4 separate regions of the Homo sapiens genome follow, and all the other regions are linked to region 1. The links are contacts of gene promoters, found by promoter capture Hi-C in blood cells and fetal thymus (Javierre and others, 2016). All regions are on one chromosome and are shown on one strand. Each heading gives the region's core, a stretch centred on a gene start or on the middle of the fragment in contact. The rest is flanking DNA. Distances are from core to core; before and after follow the strand shown.

Region 1 (3,402 bases), core at 320-2,819:
TGAGGCTTGTGGTTCCCACAGGCCTTTTAAAAGGTGATTTACCTGAGGGCCTTTCATCTAGAAACAAGGATTCTTTGGAAAAGTCAGGAATTAAGATGAACTAGACATAGAGCTTTTTTAAGGCTTTTGTTCTTTTGACAATCAAAAAGAAAACATTTTTAAAAAGTATGTTCTTTTCCAGACAGCATGCACCATGCTTTCAACGGAAGCAGGCAGCAGCTGCTGCTGACGTTCTCCTCTACCCCACTCCACCCCACCCCAGCCCAGCCTTGCCACCTGCTTAGACCCAACACCTGTGAGGCCTGGCTCGACCTGCCTACCAAAGGAAGGATAAACATTAACTACCCATATAGTCTCAGGCCCACTTACTAGGCTGGGGCACTTGGTCCGATGCTGGGAAAGGTGGTGAGAGCAGAAGGTGATAGGGTGTTGGACTCCAAGAGAAGCAAGCCCTATTTGAAACCACTCCAAGCTATGCTTTCAAGAGTGGAAAGATGCCTCCTGATTACAGGGTGTAGAAAGGAAACCAGGGGAGAAGATAAGGGGGAAAAATGTCACAGGAAAAACAACAGAGCCAGGAAGTAAATACAGAGATGAGATGAGCCCTTCAGCTCCAGGCTCTTAGGTCAGAGCCTGGTTTACTTCAGCAAAGAACTCCTGTGTCCTGTCTGCTGGCCAGAATACTCATTTGTTCAGGGAACCTGCTCCAAGGTCCCATGTTTCCTCTCTCCTCCCTTGTTAGCCAAGGCTTTCCACACACCTTTGCTTCCCTCCTGCCAAGAAGTATACCCTTGGACAAAAAGCATGCTATTGAGAACCTAAAATAAATAAATGCCCCTCTTTTCTCAAAGAAGCAAACTGTGTACCTCCTTCTTATTCATTTTTAGACCTTAGTTGCTCAAATCGGCTTGAGTTTCTATTCTTGGGCATCTTTTTTTTTTTCTTTATGAATCTAAATGGTGACTACTTTATTGTGGGCATTTTTAAATGCAAGTTTTCCACTAAAGGCACATGCAAGCAGACCGCAGGCAGGCACGCGTACACACACACACACACACACACACACACGCACACACACACTCATTTTCCCTCTCTCCCCCCACCCCTCGCCCGCCACACAGTACCTCTGGAGCTTCCCCTCCCTCAGTCATTTCCCCTCAGCCAGCTGAACAAGGCCAAGGCTTGGAAATAATTTTTCTGTGGCCTACCTTCTGATTCCGTCAGGTCTGAGAAGCAGGCGGCAGCTGTAAGCTGGGAGGCCGGGGCTGGGCTGCCTCTGTGAATCAGCAAAGAAGTCCCTGAGACAGGGATGCCGACAGCTGCTGTATGCACACTCTCCCTCTGTCTCTCCCACTTCCCTGTCTTCCTTCTTCTCCTCCTCCTCCCCTCTCAGAGCTGCTCTGTGTTGCTATGCAATCATATCACCAGGACTAACAGCATCATTCCGACCTCAGGCAAAAATACCCTTGACTGGGCAAACGCAGGAAGAGCAAGGACAGTTTTGTAAAACTACCAGAGATGTGGCGGCTCTTGGAGATGTCAATTCATTAGAAGCAGAGGAGGAAAGCGGAAGAGCCTGAGAAGCAGAGGGGGAGAGAAGGAGACAAGGAGAGGGGGAAGAGGGAGAGAGGGGGAGAGGGGGAGAGGGGAAGAGGGGGAGAGGCTTCCACTGGGGAGGAGGAGACAAAAGAGCCCTGGAGATCAATCAGGCTGCTGAGCGAGCAGCCTGGACCCCAACTTACACCGATCTAGCCCACAGACAAAACCAACTTTGGAGCCAGCAGCTGGCAGGGGCCCCTCGGTAGCCAGTCCAGGATTCTGCTTCTGTGTTGAGGGTTGAAACACTGTGGTCTGGAATCATCACTGGTACTCAAGGTACAGTTTTGGGCTCAGGACAGTCTGCCAGTCACCCCTAAGTCTCATCCTCACACCCTCTTAGATCTCACGTGTAGAAAAAGCCTCAACAAATTGGGGAAACAAAATGGATCTTGAATAATTCAGGAAAATACAGCTCCTCCATGACTCACCTCAATGACTACTACCCCAGGCACCTTCCTGCTTTTGTCCATACCAGCCCTTACTCTTTTAACTGTCACGCTTGTTAAAGAGAAGAGGGTATGAGCTCCAAACACCCTCAGAGACCTGGGAGAAGCCACTGGCAGGATAGATAAGATTATATCCCTTTACCAAGTGCCCAGCACACAGTAGGTTACTTAATAAATATATGTTGAATGAGTAAATTGAATGAATAGGTGGATGAATAGCAGTCAGAAAGTCCCCATCCTCACCCTCCTACACAAACATACAAAGATTTAAAGCCCCAGCAGTCCCAGGCCACAGCAAAGGATAAAAGCAGCTTTCTTCTTTCCTCCCTCCATCTCTGGGAACAGGGTGTATATGGAGAGAGACAAAGACTGGTTGGGAGTGGGTTGCTTAAGTTCACTGATTTGCCTCTAAAAATTTTATAAGCTCTGATGGCACTGGAACTTAGAAAATACTTCCTAGGGTCGGGCGTGGTGGCTCACGCCTATATAATCCCACACTTTGGGAGGCCGAGGCAGGCGGATCACAAGGTCAGGAGTTCGAGACAAGCCTGACCAACATGGTAAAACCCCCGTCTCTACCAAAAAAATACAAAAATTAGCTGGGCGTGGTGGTGTGCGCCTGTAATCCCATCTACTCAGGAGGCTGAGGCAGGAGAATCACTTGAACCTGGGAGGTGGAGGTTGCAGTGAGCCAAGATCGCACCACTGCACCCAACCTGGGTAACAGAGCAAGACTCTGTCTCAAAAAAAAGAAAAAAAGAAAGAAAGAAAGAAAGAAAATACTTCCTAGGACTAGTATTTACATAGGATCTAGGACTAGTATTTACATAGGATCTAGGACTAGTGTTTACAAAGTGTCTAAAGGACCCAGAATTACTGTTTTTTTTCAGTTCCATTTTAAAATTATTATGTGATTTTTTTATGAAGTATTTTTATTATTTATTTTTAATTGACAAATAATAATTGTATATATTTATGGGCTCCAGCGTGATGTTTTGATCTATGTATACTATGCAGAAAAATTCAGCCCAGCCAATTAACATATTCATCATCCCACCAACTTATCATTTTTTTTGTAGCAAGAACATTAGAAATCTATTATTTTAGCAATTTTGATACATATAATACATCATTAATAACTGTGGTCATCATGATGATCATTACTATTATTGAAAACCTTCAGCTAGAAAATAGTGTGTATATATATCTTTTCTTTTGAGGTGAAATTTTAAAAACTTAAGTTGCTAGCTTCAGCAAAAGGCTAGAAATATGGCCTGATCTCCTCTTCAAAATAAGCGACATAGGAACCAATTGCCCCTGTCATCAAGCTTTCAGAGCTGTGTAAGTAGCCCTTCCT
Region 2 (3,616 bases), core at 44-2,543, 380 kb after region 1:
AGCCCCGAAGTGAAAACAAGCCAAGCATCCATCAATAGATGAATGGATGAAGCAAATGTAGTATATTCACATACTGGAATATTATTTAGCTATTAAAAAAAAAACAAAGTACTGAATCATGCTACAACATGGACAAATCTTGAAAACATCATGCTGAAAAACACCAGACACCAAAGGCCATGTATTGTATGATTCCACTTATGTGAAACATTCAGGATAGGCATACCCACAGAGACAGAAAGTAAAGTGATTGTCTTGGGTAGGACAGGGTAGTTGGGAGGAAATGAGGACTGCTAATGTGGATGGGGTTTCTTTGCGGATGATGAAAATGTTCTGGAATTAGATAGTGGTGATGGTTGCATAACTTTGTGGCTGTGCTAAAAAGCACAAATTGCACACTTCAAAGGGGCGAATTTTATGGTATAGAAACTATACCATAATTATATTTTTAAAAAAGAGGGGGAGAGAAAGGTATGAGAGAAGGAAGAAGACGGTGAGACCCAGAGCATAGTTGGAAAGATTAGCTTTGGCAAGAAAGAACACTACCTCTCCACTAGGAGAAATTTTGAGGTAGGGATAAGCTCACAGTGGATGGGTTTAATGGGAGCTAATACATATGTACTTGCTATGTGCCAGGCATTTTTCTAATTTATTTACATGTTCTTATTTAATCCTTAAAACAACCCTATGTGGTAAGTACTATTTTTATCCCCATTTTACAGGTGGGAAAGCTGAAACAGAGAGAGGTTAAGAAATTTTCCCTTGTCGGACATTGTGGCTCACGCCTGTAATCCCAGCACTTAGGGAGGCTGAGGCAGGCGGATCACTTGAGGTCAGGAGTTTGAGACCAGCCTGGCCAACATGGTGAAACCCCATCTCTAATAAAAATACAAAATTTAGCTGGGCATGCTGGTGCGTGCCTGTAGTCCCAGCTACTCAGGAGGCTGAGGCAGGAAAATTGCTTGAACCTGGGAGGTGGAGGTTGCAGTGAACCGAGATTGTGCCACTGCACTCCAGCTGGGGGACAGAGCAAGACTCCATCTCAAAAAAAGAAAAGAAAAAAGAAAAAAAGAAATGTGCCCAAAGTCCCACAGGTGGGATAAATGTCAGAGCTGAGATTTGAGCCCAGACAACCCAGACAGACTGGCTGCACAGTCTGGCACTTAGCCACTGCACTGTCTTATGTCTGTCATCTGTGTTCTCAAAACAGGGAAGGCTGAGTGCTGAGAGTGTTAAGGGCTGAGAGCATATTTGGGGTTTGTGCGCAGAAAAGGTTAAAAAACTACCATGAAGAACGTGGGAGTAAACAACCGAATTTTTATTCAAGGTTCTTGGAAGTAGTAGAGGCCTAACAGAGGCAGTTTCTCCATTCTGTCATTGCTGCATTCTAGCCCTTACTATTGTTCTGTTCCTACAGGTCTGTAGTGGGAGTTTTCTTATGTGGCCCTCGGACTTTGGCAAAGAGCCTGCGCAAATGCTGTCACCGATATTCCAGTCTGGATCCTAGAAAGGTTCAATTCTACTTCAACAAAGAAAATTTTTGAGTTATAGGAATAAGGACGGTAATCTGCATTTTGTCTCTTTGTATCTTCAGTAATTTACTTGGTCTCGTCAGGTTTGAGCAGTCACTTTAGGATAAGAATGTGCCTCTCAAGCCTTGACTCCCTGGTATTCTTTTTTTGATTGCATTCAACTTCGTTACTTGAGCTTCAGCAACTTAAGAACTTCTGAAGTTCTTAAAGTTCTGAAGTTCTTAAAGCCCATGGATCCTTTCTCAGAAAAATAACTGTAAATCTTTCTGGACAGCCATGACTGTAGCAAGGCTTGATAGCAGAGGTTTGGTGGTTCAGAGTTATACAACTAATCCCAGGTGATTTTATCAATTCCAGTGTTACCATCTCCTGAGTTTTGGTTTGTAATCTTTTGTCCCTCCCACCCCCACAGAAGATTTCTAAGTAGGGTGACTTTTTAAATAAAAATTTATTGAATAATTAATGATAAAACATAATAATAAACATAAATAATAAACAAAATTACCGAGAACCCCATCCCCATATAACACCAACAGTGTACATGTTTACTGTCACTTTTGATATGGTCTTATCCAGTGTGAACAGCAATTTATTCTTATTTTTGCTCATCAAAAAATAAAGGATTTTCTTCTTCACTTGATGAATGAGTCTTTTGTTACTTCTTTTTGGGCTCTCCATTTGGGAAAGAAAATCTAGAAAGTATGCTCATTGTAATTGAAATTGTATTATAATTGCAAGTCAGCTATACTGTCATCTTGTATTATTCTGTTAAAAGCGATTGTGAAAACTTGAACTCCATGTTAGGATGACTTATTTAGTCAAGAGGAGCTCTTTATCACTATTAAGGGAGTTTATTAATGTCTAGTTTAAAAAATAACAATTTATAATTTTCATAGATTTTTGTGGACTCCTACCTATATCGCTAAGGAATCATTCAGCTAATAACATAAGCAAAATGCCTTCATTCTCTATCAGAATGCTTTTTATTTCTGCCATCTACCCAACCTCGGCCTACAAGGACCACACTGGCTCTGGGATGTTAGTCGTCACAGTGAATCCCTAGAAGGAGAGAAGCCCAGGGCTCTTAAGAGAGAAACCTCACACTTCATTGTGCCCAGACAATTCAACTCATTATAGATTAGAAGAATGGTTGTACTGAATTAGCATTATATTATCTATTTTTTCTACCATTAAGTGACCACGAATGAACAAATGGTTGTTTCTAATAGTTTAGGAACCTCTACGGCTTGAGGGATAAAACTGTTTTTGGTTTTTTTTTGTCACTAGTCTGAGCACAATAAAGGTAGGTCATGAACTCATGGTGGCTAATCATGTTTCATTTATTACAACAGTAAAACAATACTGATGGTTGTTTACATAGGGAGGGATACCACTGCTGTTGCCAATTTGTTCACCCGGATTTCAGCTAATTCAGGTTTAATAAGGCTTTGGGAAAATGCACAATGAAACCTTGAAGACATGATTCTTATTAGACAACTACTGACCAAATGACAACTTCATCTTCAATGACCTTGATTTGGAATCTTGAAACTTACAACGAGTTCCTAATGAGAAAGGCATCACTCTTGGTCTCCATGTCTAAATATATTGACACACTCACTTCAAGATATGATGGCTGCCAAAATCAATATCCCAAGGCTTGAATATTTATGGGAGTAGGCATAAATTCGTGATTATATTCATGGTAATGAATATAATAAATCCTATGCATAGCCAACATCCAAGTTGAACTGGGGATGAGCAGGATACACAGAAAGCTCCTCACCTGCTTTGAGCAAGTTTTTCTTGCAAAGTTGTAATATGAAATACCTTAATCAACAAATTTCTTATAAATGTTTATATGAGTAGAAAATCCCTCAATTTCATTGTCACTCAAAAAGTTGATTATCTTTGCATTCTTTTGCTTGACATGTAAGCAATATGCTATTACATTCTCTAAGCCTATGCCAGGCTTTTAATTCACCTGACCATAATCCTAACCCAGGGGATAGAATTCCAAGAATATAAATTGGCTCAAAAGTAGTTCCAGTAGAACTTTACTGATTATTAAGGCAACTCTTAAC
Region 3 (3,105 bases), core at 578-3,077, 350 kb after region 1:
AATGATGCTGGGGCAATTCGTTTTCCATATTTAAAAGTAGTAAATTGGATACCATACATGAAAATCAGCTCCAGGTGGATTCAAAACATAAATGTAAAATGCAAAAATATAAAATTTCTAGAAGAAAATATAAAAGAGTATCTTGATATCTGGGTAGTGATGGATTTCTAAAACAAGACATAAAATGCATAAATCATAAAAGAAATGACTGGTAATCAGAGTGCATTAAAATTAAGAACTTCCATTTATCAGAAAACACTATTAAGAGACTGAAAAGACAAGCCATAAACATAAGCAATAAAAGATTAGTATAAGATTATAAACAGAACCCTAAGAATCTAAAAGCAAAAGAAAAACCAATAGAAAGATAGACCAAAAAGTAGAATAGGCTCAGAATAGGCTCTTTTAAAAAGAGAAAACTCAAATGGCCAGCAGTTGAATTAAAAGATGCTCAAACTCATTAGTAATCAGGGAAATGCAAATTAAAATCATAATACGATAGTTTTCCACACTTACTTGAATTATAAAAACAAAAAAGTCTGGAAAATACCAAGGGTTGGTAAGCATGTAGAGGAAGTAGAACTCTCATTCATAACTCTCTGTAGTATACATTTAGGTGGTCACTTCGGAACGGGTTTGGAATTACACAGCAAAGTAGAATATGTGCAAATCTCAGGACCCTGGAATTTTACTCCTGGGTATATACCTTAGAGAAACTGTAGCATATGTGTGACATTTGATCAACATTGTTCCATCATCATATCCATCAGTAGTAGGATGAATGAATACATTAATGTATATTCATTCATGCAATGGCATATTAGATAGCAGTGTAAGTGAACCGCAATTACATGTACATGTATGAATCTCAAAAACCCAATGTTGAAAGAAGCAAACCACAGAAGCATACATACACACTGCCAGGTTTCATTTACAAAAAGTTCAAAAACAGGAAAAACTAAACAATATATTGCTTAGGGATGCAATTATAGTTAGTAAAAATATAAAGAAAAATAACAGAATGATTACCCCAAATTTCAGGATAGTGATTACATCCGGTGGGGTAGAGGAGGGGAAGAAGATAGATGTGATCAGGGAGGGAAATACAAAGAGCTTTAAGATACTGGAGAAAAATAGTCTATTTTCTTTAATCTGAGTAGTGAACACATAGATACTTATTCCTTAAAATTATTCTTTAAGTTACATATGTATGTTTTATATACTCTTCTGTGTATATTTCACCATTTTAGAAAAGGGAAAAAAAATCAGTGCCCAGAGCTGAACACACAACTCTAGTAAATCTATCATACTAGAAGACAATCATCTCCATTCTTTTGAGTGCTCTGCCTCTGTTTATTTTGAACCAAAGTGCACTTTTATACTTGTTAAATTTTCTCTTGCTCTATTTGGCCCTTCTTTTCACTTGTCCTTCCAGCCAGTCAAGTTCTCCCCAAAGCCATCATCATATATGTCAACCACAGATCATCCTCCAGGGGAACTGGTATGCTAAAGTTTCTGAGCTAGCCAGGCTGAAATCCAAATGGCAGCCGGCAGATGTGGCAACAGTTTGAAAAGTGCACTTTGAAACAGCTTCCTTACCACACACGCTTCCCTCCCTACTTCTCCTGAAGTAATCTGTTTACAGACCCAGACTAATAATCTTTTTTATGAGAAACTTTAGCAAATCTTTTATCTAGGAAGGCAATGCTTCACATTAGGTCATGTTGATAAGATGATGAGAGAGAATATTTTCATCCAAGAATGTTGCTATTTCCTGAAGCAGTAAAATCCCCACAGGTAAAACCCTTGTGGTTCTCATAGATAGGGCTGGTCTATCTAAGCTGATAGCACAGTTCTGTCCAGAGAAGGAAGGCAGAATAAACTTATTCATTCCCAGGAACTCTTGGGGTAGGTGTGTGTTTTTCACATCTTAAAGGCTCACAGACCCTGCGCTGGACAAATGTTCCATTCCTGAAGGACCTCTCCAGAATCCGGATTGCTGAATCTTCCCTGTTGCCTAGAAGGGCTCCAAACCACCTCTTGACAATGGGAAACTGGGTGGTTAACCACTGGTTTTCAGTTTTGTTTCTGGTAAGTGATGTTTGACTTCCTATTAATTAGGAAGGATTAAGGAGAAATCATGTTTTTTAATATTTGTAAAGCAATTTGAAAGAGAAAGATGATTCCATGCCGATTATTGGGCTCATCAAGACCAGTTAGTTAAAAAATACAACTGTGGGTCAGATGAGAGGACAGAGGCAAATAACATGCAATTGTTCATGTTGTCAAATCACAAGTATTTGGAATTTCAATCTGTTTTCATTTTCTGTCATCTCCCTTTCTCTTCCATCTCACTTCTAACTACTACCATGAGTGCTGATTTCTCTCTATCTTTCCTATACTGGTCCCATCAAGATTTCAAAAAGTCACTGAATGTTTGAGATGAAAGTGATCTTAGAGATCATCTGGCCCAGTACTGACCACTAGAAATATAGCAAACCACATAATGTAATTCCTAAATTTTCTAATACCTACACCGAAAAGGTAAAAATAAACAGGTGAAGTTAATATTTAACAATATAATTCATTTAACCCAACATATCAACAAATCCTTTCAGTATGTATTCAATATTGAAAATATTAAGAAGCTAATTTACATATTTTTATTTTTACTGAGTCTTTCAAATCTGATGTGTATATATACCCACAGCACATCTCAGTGAGGACTAGCCACATTTCAAGTGCTCAGCAGCCCCATGTGGGTAGTGGCTGTGGCATTGCATAGTGCAGATGTAAACCAACTTATTGATTGTACAAAGGAAAATAAGACCTAGATGTCACACAATGAATTGACTGAATTGGCATCACTCGAACCCAGCTCCCCAATGACGTTCAGGCCAGAACCCCTTTATCACCCTTTGTATGCACAATCCCTTTCTCCTAACACTCTAACACCTCTCTCCACTCTCATTCTTCCATTTCTGAGCCACAGTTGAGCCTGGGGCTCCCTGTGTCCTTTCTCACTTTCCTAGATCTTCATTCATTACTCTTTCTCTTTTCTCCTGTTTTGCTTTTGGGTCCCACAGGCAAAACAGAAGAGAGAAG
Region 4 (3,235 bases), core at 513-3,012, 440 kb after region 1:
GACAGGCTCGCCTTCCTTGATGGAAGTGAGTGGAAACGCCTACAAAAAAAGGAATTTTTGTTGTTTTTGTTGTTTTGTTTTGTTTTTAACAGCAAATAAACTTCAGACCCCCAACTGGAAAATGTTGGAAGATCAGAGATCCCTGGAAAGAGGTCCTCGACTTTGGCAAATTGTCCTCTCAGTTTGGGCTATAAGGTGACCAAGCCGGTGCCAAGCACTGAGAGGTGAGCTACTGCAGGCTGGGTCACTTTCACTCAGGATCCCTTCGTGGTTACCAGATGTCAATTGAGAAAAATGACAAGTCTCAATCATTTTAGGGGATTTATTTGCCAAAGTTAAGGATGCACTCAGGAGACAGGTCTATGCCTGTCTCCGAAGATGATTTTGAGGGCTCAAAATTTAAAGGGGAAAGGGTGCGATACTGAGAAGTACACAATTTTCATGTAAGAGGAGGGTAGGGAAAAATAGTCATTCATGCCTTTGTCTGGCTCAGGGAATCTGCATTAATAAGATGACATAAAAGAGGCAGAGGAAAAATGTGGGGAATATGCATTTTACATAAGATAACATGGACAAAATGGGGCAGGGGAACACTCAGATGTGCATTTATGTCTAGTGCGCCGGGGGCGACTGCACCTGTAAAGATAAGCTATCAATTTGCATTGCTACGGTGAAATTTTAACAACTCACTAGGAATTTCCTTGTGGGCAAAATATGGCGGAGGCATGTAGCTTTTCATCTTGTAGCCATCTTATTGAGGACCCAAAAGTGGGAGGCAGGTTTGCATGACCCAGTTCCCACTTTGACTTTTCCCTTTCGCTAAATGAGTTTGGCGTCCCGAAATTGAATTTCCTTTCACAGATTACATGGGGAAAGGAGGGCCTGGAGCTTCCTACTCTGCTATCTTTCAGATGTCACTCAAAAATGTATTCTATCACTTTTATAAACAGGGACACCAAAGCTCAGAGAGTGACTTGTACAATATTACATAATTAATAAAAATACAGCTGGGATTTGACTCTTTTTAATTTTTAAATTTTTATTTCTTTAAAATTTTTCAGGTTTTGTGATTTTTTTTAAAAAAGAAGCTTAGTATCTTGGAGTAATTTTAGATTTGCCAAAAAGTTGCTAAGATAGTGCGGAGAGTTCCCGTATCAGCCCACTTCCCTCCCTTTGGCCCTACACAGAGTTATTGTTTTTATTATCATCTTAGATTAGTATGGTACATTTGCTACAAGTAATAAACCAATATTGATACATTATTATCACTAAAGTCCATACTTTATTCAGATTTTCTTAGTTTTTATATACTGACTTTTTCTGTTCTAGGAGCCAGTCCATGATACCACATTGCATTTAGTTGTCATTTTTCCTTAGTTTCTTCTTGACTGTGACAGTTTCTAAGACTTGTTTTGATGACCTATTGAGGAGTACTCCTCAGGTATTTTGTAGAATGTCCCTCAATTGGGATTTGTCTTACGCTTTCCTCATGATTAGAATGGGATTATAAGTGTTTGAGAGAAAGATCACAAAGGTAATATTCCATTCTCATCACACCATATCAAGGCTTTGCTCAGCTAACCAAGGTAGTGTTTGCCAGGTTTTTCCACTATGAAGTTACTTCACCCCTTTTCCATACTCTATTTTTTGGAAGGAAGTTACCAAGTCCAGCCCACACTTATGAGGGTTTGATGGGGATTAAGTGCCACTTCCTGGAAGGCAAGTATCTATATAAATTATTTAGAATTCCTCTATAAGGAAGAATAACTTATTTTGTTGCTCAAATTGTTCCAACTTTGTCCATTGCAAGCTCTTTCAGGCTGGCTCCTGTGTCCATTTAGCATGCTCCCATAATTTTGTTTTTTGAGTACTTTCTTAAGTTGCCTCTAAATTTCATTCTAAACACCTATCTACCTCAGTTCAGTTCCCTTTACCCAGTACATCATGCCTTGCTTTGAACAGAAAAATTATAAGATATGCTAAAAAGAGAAAAAAAACCACAGTCTTGAAGAAACAAAGCAAGCACTAGAACCAGACTCAGATGTGGCAGATATTTTGGAATTATGGGACCAGAGATTTAAAGTAACTATGATTAATATGCTAAGGGTTCTGTCTTAGTCTGCTTGGGCTGCTATAACTTATACTGTAGGTTGCATGGCTTAAACAGCAGAAATTTATTTCTCACAGTTTTGGAAGCTGGGAAGTTTAAGATCAAGGTGCCAGTAATTTGGTTTCTGGTGATGGCCCACTTCTTGACTTGTAGATGGCCACTTTCTTGCTGTGTCTTCGTATGGTAGAGAGAGAGAAAACTGGCGTCTCTTCCTCTTATAAGGGCACTAGCCTTATTCAACTAAGGCCCTATCCTTATTACCTCATGTAACCTCTGTCACCTTCTCACAGCCCCTATAAATGTAAAACAGAAAACTACAAAGCTTCTAGAAGATAACATAGGAGAACATAGAGGTGACCTTGTGTTTGGCAATGAGTTTTTAGATACAACACACAAAGCACAATCCATGAAAGAAAAAATTGGCAAGTTAGACTTCATCAAAGTTAAAACCTTCTGTTTTATGAAAGACACTGTTAAGTAAATGAAAAGACACGACAAAGACTGGGAGAAAATATTTGCAGAAGACATATCTGATAAAGGACTGTTATCAAAAATATATGAAGAACTCTTAAAACTCAATAAGAAAATGAGCAACCCAATGAAAAGATGTGCAAAAGATCTGAATGGACATATGCCCAAAGAAGATATACAGATGGTAAATATGCATATGAAAAGATGCTCAACATATATGTCATTAGGGAATTGCAAAATTAAAACAACAATGAGATACCACTCCACACCAATTAGAATGGCTAAAATCCAAAACACTGATAACACCAATGTTTGTGAAGATGTAGAACAGAAACTCTTTCATAGCTGGTGGGAATGCAAAATGGTACAGATACTTTGGAAGATAGTTTAGCAGTTTCTTACAAAACTAAATATGCCTTAGGCATTTACCTCAATGAGTTGAAAACATATGTCCACACAAAATCCTACACAAAAGTTTTTGTATCAACTTTATTCATTATTGCCAGAAATTAGAAGTAATCAAGATGTCCTTTAATGATGAGTAAATTTAAAAAAAACTGTGGTATATCTATACAATGCAATATTATTCAGTGATAAAAAGAAATGAGCTGTCAAGCCACAAAAGACCCGGAAGACCCTTAACTGCATGTTGCT

Evidence for each region. The method cuts DNA at HindIII sites, captures the fragments that hold promoters and counts their contacts. A CHiCAGO score of 5 or more calls a contact.
Region 2: a fragment that was not itself captured here is called in contact with the fragment with the promoter of DRP2 in region 1 in 1 of 17 cell types (naive B cells); the score reaches 6.3 in naive B cells.
Region 3: a contact is called between the fragment with the promoter of NOX1 here and the fragment with the promoter of DRP2 in region 1, in 1 of 17 cell types (naive CD4 T cells). The highest score is 5.3, in naive CD4 T cells.
Region 4: a fragment that was not itself captured here is called in contact with the fragment with the promoter of DRP2 in region 1 in 1 of 17 cell types (endothelial precursors); the score reaches 6.6 in endothelial precursors.

Annotation. Positions count from the first base shown.
Region 1 is chrX:101,217,953-101,221,354 of GRCh38, reverse strand. DRP2 (dystrophin related protein 2) reads right to left here and starts at 1,569. Exons shown (of 24, transcript NM_001939.3): 1 at 1,209-1,569. The HindIII fragment of the contact is 8,546 bases long and covers 1-3,375 here.
Region 2 is chrX:100,841,880-100,845,495 of GRCh38, reverse strand. It overlaps NOX1 (NADPH oxidase 1), which reads left to right. Exons shown (of 13, transcript NM_007052.5): 13 at 1,418-2,172. The coding sequence ends at 1,544. Among named protein-coding and RNA genes, the nearest start is that of CSTF2, 23 kb to the right of the region's middle. The HindIII fragment of the contact is 6,474 bases long and covers 1-3,616 here.
Region 3 is chrX:100,873,081-100,876,185 of GRCh38, reverse strand. NOX1 (NADPH oxidase 1) reads left to right here and starts at 1,827. Exons shown (of 13, transcript NM_007052.5): 1 at 1,827-2,091. The coding sequence starts at 2,047. The HindIII fragment of the contact is 11,783 bases long and covers 1-3,105 here.
Region 4 is chrX:100,782,359-100,785,593 of GRCh38, reverse strand. No RefSeq gene overlaps it. Among named protein-coding and RNA genes, the nearest start is that of CSTF2, 36 kb to the left of the region's middle. The HindIII fragment of the contact is 1,344 bases long and covers 1,091-2,434 here.